Regions from separate parts of the Homo sapiens genome. Here region 1 is linked to region 2. Evidence: promoter capture Hi-C in human tissues and cell types (Jung and others, 2019). All regions are on one chromosome and are shown on one strand. The core of a region is centred on a gene start or on the middle of the fragment in contact, and the rest is flanking DNA. Distances in the headings are between cores, read along the strand shown. Region 1 overlaps SLC39A9 (solute carrier family 39 member 9). Region 2 holds the start of MED6 (mediator complex subunit 6).

The links. Contacts are between HindIII fragments. The study calls those that stand out against the background at their distance.
Region 1: a fragment that was not itself captured here is called in contact with the fragment with the promoter of MED6 in region 2 in 1 of the 25 tissues and cell types used here (aorta).

What each region holds. Positions count from the first base shown.
Region 1 is chr14:69,409,809-69,413,815 of GRCh38, reverse strand. The region is part of intron 1 of SLC39A9 (solute carrier family 39 member 9); the gene reads right to left. Among named protein-coding and RNA genes, the nearest start is that of SLC39A9, 13 kb to the right of the region's middle. The HindIII fragment of the contact is 3,498 bases long and covers 1-3,079 here.
Region 2 is chr14:70,599,230-70,603,509 of GRCh38, reverse strand. MED6 (mediator complex subunit 6) reads left to right here and starts at 2,855. Exons shown (of 8, transcript NM_005466.4): 1 at 2,855-2,894. The coding sequence starts at 2,873. RefSeq lists an enhancer at 2,154-3,353. The HindIII fragment of the contact is 4,302 bases long and covers 1,781-4,280 here.

The DNA.
Region 1 (4,007 bases), core at 81-2,580, 1.2 Mb after region 2:
GTGGTTACAGGGATGATTAGATTCAGCATTGCACTCCATGACAATGCTCACTGCATAGCATAATACATACAATCCATTATAAAAAAATTTATCTCCAAAAAAGATGATATTCATGCAACCTTTCAAAATAGTATGAATCAGCAAAATCCCTCAGCAACACCGAGAGAAAAAACAAAATCATAAATAGTTGTAATTCTTCTCTATTGACAGTTTCTAATGGTTCATGACAAAATAAAATAAGGACAATACAGTGAGCACATCATAAAGCTTTATTTCTTCAATATAAAGATCTATTTTTTATTCTGAGATTATATCCTACCTAATTTTGGTTATAATGTCCTTTCTTTTAAGAAATGATGGTGACAACAGTTTTTGTTTTTATTTTTAGTGTCCTTACATGGCAAAATTAAAAGGAGGTAATCCTGTATCGATTCTTTGAAAAAAAATTTTTTTTTTTTTTGAGACGGAGTCTCGCTCTGTTGCCCAGGCTGGAGTGCAGTGGCATGATCTTGGCTCACTGCAAGCTCCACCTCCCGGGTTCATGCCATTCTCCTGCCTCAGCCTCCCGAGTAGCTGGGACTACACGTGCCTGCCACCATGCCTGGCTTATTTTTTGTATTTTTAGTAGAGACAGGGTTTCACCATGTTAGCCAGGATGGTCTCGATCTCCTGACCTTGTGATCTGCCTGCCTCGGCCTCCCAAAGTGCTGGGATTACAGGCGTGAGCCACTGCGCCTGGCCGAGTCTTTGAAATTTTAAATATATGACTGATCTATGAAACCCAAAAGCTGGAAAACCCTGATCTAAGTGCAAACATGAAATTATAATGCCATCAAACATTCAGAAACAAAGAATTTGAGTTTGTAGGATGAGACCATCAAGGTAAATCTGAATGAATCATCTAGCTTTGCAGTATTTCCTTCGAAGAAAGGCAGCGTGAGGTAAAACTATTGTATTGTTTTCAGTTCACTTTGAAATTAAGTGCATTTATTTACCAAATGAAGTTAAATATCCACTCAACACTATGTTTACTGTTTGTCCCTGTAACCCCTTCCCCACAAAATTACCAATTCTGTCAGGGCAGAGATCTTTAATTTACTGCTGAATTCTCAATTTATAAGGAAGTATCTGGCACACAGCAGTTTCCCCTAAATATTTATTGAAAGAATGAATTAAATGCCCACCACCAAGCAAAGCACTGGGGACTTGGTACCGGCCACTGGGCTCTGATACAAACAATTACACAAATGTAGCGGAACCTCTTTAGAATATTTGTGCCAGGAAATAGACCTCATATATTCCTTGTAACTATATCAAGAATTTTCAGTGATTAGTTGATTCAGAATTGATAGTTTCACTCAAGGGGCATGCAGATACATTTATTTATTTATTTATTTATTTATTTATTTATTTATTTATTTATTTTTGAGATGGAGTCTTGCTCTGTCGCCCAGGCTGGAGTGCAGTGGCGTGATCTTGGCTCACTGCAAGCTCCGCCTCCCGGGTTCATGCCATTCTCCTGCCTCAGCCTCCTGAGCAGCTGGGACTATAGGCGCCCGCCACCATGCCCGGCTAATTTTTTGTATTTTTAGTAGAGATAGGATTTCACCGTGTTAGCCAGGATGGTCTCGATCTCCTGACCTCGTGATCCACCCGCCTCGGCCTCCCAAAGTGCTGGGATTACAGGCGTGAGTCACTGTGCCCAGCCGGCAAATACATTTAATAAAGGGCCATAGGCTGGGTGCGGTTGCTCATGCCTGTAATCCCAGCACTATGGGAGGTTGAGGCAGGCGGATCACGAGGTCAAGAGATCGAGATAATCCTAGCCAGCATGGTGAAACCCCATCTCTACTAAAAATACAAAAATGAGCTGGGCATGGTGGCATGTGCCTGTAGTCCCAGCTACTCGGGAGGCTGAGGCAGGAGAATCGCTTGAACCTGGGAGGCAGAGGTTGCAGTGAGCCGAGATCCCGCCACTGCACTCCAGCCTGGGCGACAGAGCGAGACTCCGTCTCAAAAAAAAAAAAAAAAAAATTCTTTACCTGATCATTTTAGACTCAATCTGATTTATTTTAAGCGCTAGAATTGTGGCTTCATGTATTTGTATGGCTGTATTCTTTCACACAACTTGGGATTCAATCTCAAGTTGTGTTTATATTAAAGTTAACAAAATGCTGACAGGTTCTTTCTTTTGCTTATGGTAAATCACTAAAAAGTTTATTTAAATGGAGAACTACAAATTCCAAGTGTCATTCAAGATCAAAAGACAGTTCCCAAACCAACAGTTTCTGTCAGTGAAATGAAGTATTTGCTCAGGAGAGGCATGAACTGTGCAATGCCATTGGTTTTATGTTATCTCATTTTAGAAGTTCACAGTTGCAGCCTGACTGAACCAAAGGATCTGCTAGATACATTAATTAAAACAACAGCTTGCACTCTATGCCGTTAACCATCAGCACAAGCTTTGAAGTCAGTTTAATATTTCTTGGCAGACACCAAGGTAATTAAATGGTCTTTCTTTCCCTGCTCACAGAAACAGTCAACAAATTGGTTCACCTAAAGACAAGCCAACAATTTTTAAAGTTTTTTTTTTTTTTTTTTTTTGAGATGGAATCTCACTCTATGACCCAGGCTGGAATGCAGTGGTGTGAACCTGGCTTACTGCGACCTCTACCTTCCAGGTTCAAGCGATTCTCCTGCCTTAGCCTCCTGAGTAGCTGGGATTACAGGCATGTGCCATCATGCCCAGCTAATTTTTGTATTTTTAGTAGAGACAGGGTTTCACCATGTTGACCAGGCAGGTCTCAAACTCCTGACCTCAAGTGATCCACCAGCCTTGGCCTCCCAAAGTACTGGGATTACAGGCATGAGCCACCGCATCCAGTCTTTAAAAGCTTTTGATACGGAAAACATTTTATCTCAATTTTCCTTGTGCCATGCCCATTTTAGTAGTCAAAGTGTCAACTACAGCTTCCTAAAAAAAAAAAAAAATCAAAGGTACATCTCTTATCATAAGATTGATCCCTTCAAAGTTTTAGGCACTGAAGAGATAAAATATCACAGGCTATGAAGTAACTCTTGTTCAGGCAACAAAGTTTTCCCCCATATTCTTACAAACAAACCTGCTTCAAGAAAGAGATATTTCTTAATGTCAATTTAGCCACTACATTATCTGCTGCTAAGTGTTAGTAACAGATAATAAAGAAAACTCAGATCTAATTTGGTTCTTCAAGTCCTTACAGCTGAAACAAGATGCCCAAAAGCTTCCTGGCTCTAAGGAGCAGCTGTGTGAAACAGGACAAGTCTTTAACCTTCCTGGGCTTCATGGCCTCCTCTGTAAGAAGGGGCTACTGCTACTAGTATTATTATTGTGTAGGAGCAGGATATATTAGTGCACTTAGCAGAGTAGGGGTTGTTATTACTTGTCTTCAACATCATCAGTAGCATGCAAAAAAAAGCTTCTAAGCACCTCCACTGCAAGAATAATGAAAGTTCCAGTGAACGAAGTTACAATTCTGCCATGTTGCCAGGGGCATATAAGCTTCCTATTTCCTAACTCATTTGACATCAAGGTTACTTAACACCTTCTAAGGCAGTAATAACAAGCAAGTACTTTATTAATGCCATTTCCTCCAATCTTGGAAAATAAGATTAATTTATTTTTCTTTTTGCATAAAATTCCTTTCTAAACATAAAAGAAATAAATATAAATCCCGTAAGATTGTTTGATGTAACTACAAAGCCAAAACAAACAAAAATCCATTGAAAAATAACCTGGAAAAGCATTGCCAACAAATATATCATTGATACATAAGAGTTCAACTGAACCGAGCAGACTAAAATAGTAAATATACCTTTTCCTCTATGAAATTGGTACAGTTTTAAAAATGAATAATGATAATGTTTGTGAGAATATAGCGTTATTTGCATTTGTTGTAAAAATGCATTTTAAAAAACTGGTAATATAGATTGAGAACCTTCTGAAGAACATTCATGCCCTTTATCCC
Region 2 (4,280 bases), core at 1,606-4,105:
CACATTATCAATTATCCATGAGCATCATTTCATCTTTAACCAATCAGAAATCATTCCCACTTCCATACTGAAGATCTTGTTTTTTCTCTTTTACTTGCATTCTCACATATTAAATTATCTAAGTTTCCAAATCCTAAAGCCTCAAAAGGTCATACTGTATATAGTGGAGGCAGGTACACATTTTAATATATCCTACAGAAAATAGATTACACCAGTATTACTGATTTTATGGAGGAGACAGTACATAGCAATTTTGTGTGCATGTGTGTATTTTTAACATAATAAAATCTTATTTCTTGCTTTGGATCCAGTTTAGGTCAGCAAGGTGGCTCAGCACCTGTGGTCAGTCATTCAGAGACCCCAGCCCCCCAACTCCCCATCACCACCACTTTCAATCCATGACCTTAGGTTTCTCTGGCATCTAGCTGGTGAATACAGAGAGAGAAAGTGAAGATGGAACCAGTGTTTTTCACTGTCTTGGCCTGGAGGTAACACTTATCACTTCCATTCACAGTCCCTTGATGAGAACTGGCTATGTAGCTCCATCCAGGTGCAAGGGTGGTGGAAAATATAGCTTAGCTGTATACCCAAGTAGATAATAAGTTTGGTGAAAAGCTAGCTCATCTGCCTCAGTCCGTCTCCTCATTTAAAAATGGGAGTAATAGCTTCTGCCTCATAAAATTGTTTTGAGGGAACAACTAGATAGTTCGTCAAAGTGCTTAGCACAGTGCCTCGTCCATAGTAAGTGGCTCAATAAGCACAACAAATACTTTTGACATCCATAAACAAATTTCCAGTCAGAACCTTTGTGGCATTCTACTCATTCAAATCTTTTAATAGCTTCCTATGTTCTTTGAATAAAAAATAAATTATTGACCAGGCTCTCTATCATCTGGCCCCTGCCTTCATTCCCAGTCTCTTTTCCCATCATTCATCCTTCACTCATACAACCCGGCTTACACTGGCCTTTCTGTGGTTCTCAGACCAACCCCTTTCCCACTGTAGGGTCCATGGTCCCCTCTGTCTGATATGCTTGTGCCCCAGCTCTTCACATGAGTGATTTGCTTTCATCTTCCAGGTCTCATCTCAGGTATCACTTCCTCAGAGAGGCCTGTCCTGACTGTCCTACCCAAAGTGGCTTCCTCCCTATCTTGTCTTCTCTTGTTTTTGTTACCACACTTTTTAATTTATATTTCTTTATTAACTGAAACAATTAATATAAAAGAAATAGAGATGGGATCTCGCTATCTTGACCAGGCTGGTCTCCAGCTCCTGGGCTCAAGCAATCCTCCCATCTTGGCCTCCCAAAGTGCTGGGATTACAGGCGTGAGCCACCTTGCCCTGTCTTCCTCAAGTTATCTTTCTAAAATGGAAGCTTGATCACATTTCTCCCATTGCCTACAAAATAAAGGTTGAGCTTCCAGGTCTTATTTACCATGCATACCATATGTTTTATTATCTACAGATCTGCATTCTGTCACTATTCTTCCTAATCTCCTTCTAGCCTAATCAAAACACAAGGAAACAAAAAACTAGAAAAACAAAACAAAAAGCTTTATGGATCACACTTTTTATTGGACACGATACTCTTCCTTTTTGCAATGTCCTCCCACTAGGCTCCCAACCAGGCCCTCCTGAAAAATTCTCTCTCAAAACTTTACTCTGTGCATGCACATACTTCTGTTGGGACACCTATTTTATACATACCATCTCAGGCAGAAAATTCCCAAACTGAAATGTACAGGCAACGTACTTTTATTCTACGGAGTTAACAAATTTTTAATTCCTTGTCTATGAGGTTGAAAATCCCAATTAAATTTCTGGTCTTCCCCTCTTGCTCCTGGGTTGTGGTTAAATTCTTGGGGAGTCTTCACAGTACCTAAGTTTTGGAGAAGATGTAGGCACCCGCCCTCATCCCTCCTTCAGATTTTGGCATCCTCTTCCTAGTATCTGTGTGTTGTTTGCATATTTCTGTATCGTTTTGCTTTTACAGAGCCACACTGAAGCTTGAGAATCTGAGGCTTTCTGTAGCTTCCCCGTACACAGAATCATTCCCTCTTTGGAGCCTTGCTACCTACTCCAGACTACTTGGAATGCAGACATTTGCTCATTACTCTGGGACCCAGGGGTATTCCCTTTCTCTTAATCTTATTAATATTTCACTTCAGAAGCATTTCCTGTGTTGTGAAATTTTTCTCAGAGGCTTCTTTAATTGGTTTAGATTTTTAATGGATTTAGTCACATAAAAGCCAATGACTCCCAAATTCTTAAGTCCTGTCCCATCCCAATACCTGAGGCAGGGAGAAAAATATAAATGACCATCGTTCCTAAATCTGATAGCTCAGTGGATACACCCGGGGAGCTTTTAAAATTAAGAGACACTCCCAAGCACAACTCTACAGCATCAGAATTTGTTTTCTTGACGATCACAGACGATCAAGGCAGAATTCTTCCATCAGTGGTGGGCGTGGGGCGGGACTCCACTCGGTCTTTCTGTCCTCTAAGTCTTCTAATTTTTTTCCCAGTAATCCGCCCTCCCGTTCTCCTTCTTTGGCCCATCCCTCTTCTAGTCTTTCCCTGCTCCCCTGCACCAATCTTTCTGCGTCCCGTCCCCTCCCATTCCCCTACCCCACCCCACCCCACCCCACCCCACGTTTCCCGCCTCCCGCGCCTCTCCCGCTTTCCGCCCCCTCGCGTCTCCTCCCCTCCCACCCGCACCTCCACCCCCTGCCTCTCTCCTGCCCGCCCCGCCCCCTCTTCCGCTCTACGTCCCTCCTCACCCATGCGCACTCTCTTCAACCCGCTGCTTCCGGCGGCCTAGGCTTACGTTTACTTTGCGCCGGAAAGAGAACCTGTAAACGCTCTCGGAATTATGGCGGCGGTGGATATCCGAGGTATACTGTATTGCTATATTTTGTCTCTTGATTGTCTGTGGACCAGTTTGGGATGTTATAGCTCGCGGTTTCAAGGTTTAGGTTCCTTTGTGTGAAGTCTCAAGCTTTTTTGAGTGGTTTTTGTGGACAACCCAAGGCTGTGATCTAGCGAAACGTTGACGAGTTTTTTTTTTTTTCTGAGTTCTTGGAGCGTCTCTTGGAAGCGTCGGAGAGAAGGGGTTGGAAGAAGCTCTGGGTTTTGAGCTTTCAGAGCTGGAGTTTTGTTCTACACACGTATCTCTGCAACAACATTAGGGCTATTCTATTGGAGTGAAGGAATGGCGTTTAGGCAGAGAAGGGAATGGGGTAATAAGCCAACTTGATTTGATTCATCTCTTGGGACTTGGCATGGTGGCTGCCTAATTCTTTAGACCGCGCCACACGGGTCCCTGAGCATGAATCCCAGATATTTTCTTTTTTTTTGAGTCGATAATACTTTACATCGAACGTCCAGCAATTATTATGGGCAGGGGTCGTATTTTTTTCACAGCTGAACTGCAGAAGTACTCAAATATTGAATCAGTCAGTGAATAAATGTATGGAGATGTCACCCCTTAACTGCTGCTTGATCTTGGGGAGCATGTAGAGTTGTTTTTGTGTATATAGTACTTGATTTTTAAAGGGAGATGTTTGAGATGCCTTTTTTTAATATTAACTGGATTGGGGTCTAACACATTTATTACAAATATTCTCATTTATACTTATCTGGCGATCTGCAGCACTTCTGGATCATGATTTTACATACGTGTCTTTCATTATTTATTTCATCACTTGCTGATGGTTAGAATGCTGTTAGAATGCTTGGGCTATGTCAACATGTTGCCTTGCTACAGAATAAAAAAGAGAAATATTTAGTTTATAAAATGTTTTACTTATAATTCAGATTGTTAGGATCATGGCAAAGACTCTAAAATAAGAGTGTGTTTGGTGTGTTAAAGGAACAGCAAGGAGGTCAGTGTGGCTGGAGGGTAGTGAGAGAGGATGTGGGAAGGAGATGAAGTCAGAAAGGTGTTGAAAGCTATGATAAGGTCTTTGGCTTTTCCTCTGAGTAAAACGCAGAGCCATTGGAGGGGTTTCCATCAGAGGAATGATGTGATCTGACTTTTTTTTAGGACTACATTGGCTGCTGGGAACAGTGTAGGAGGGCAAGGGTAGAATTAGGAAAACCAGTTAGGAGGCCATTTCTGAAAATGTTATTTCCTGGCCTGTTGTGTATTTGGTTATTGCATGATCCAGTTATGATGAACTATCTAAATGGTCTATACTAATTATTTGGTTATTAACGCACTTCATCTGTCTCCTCCTTTATTTTATAGCACACAAAGTACATTTTACCTTTATATAATT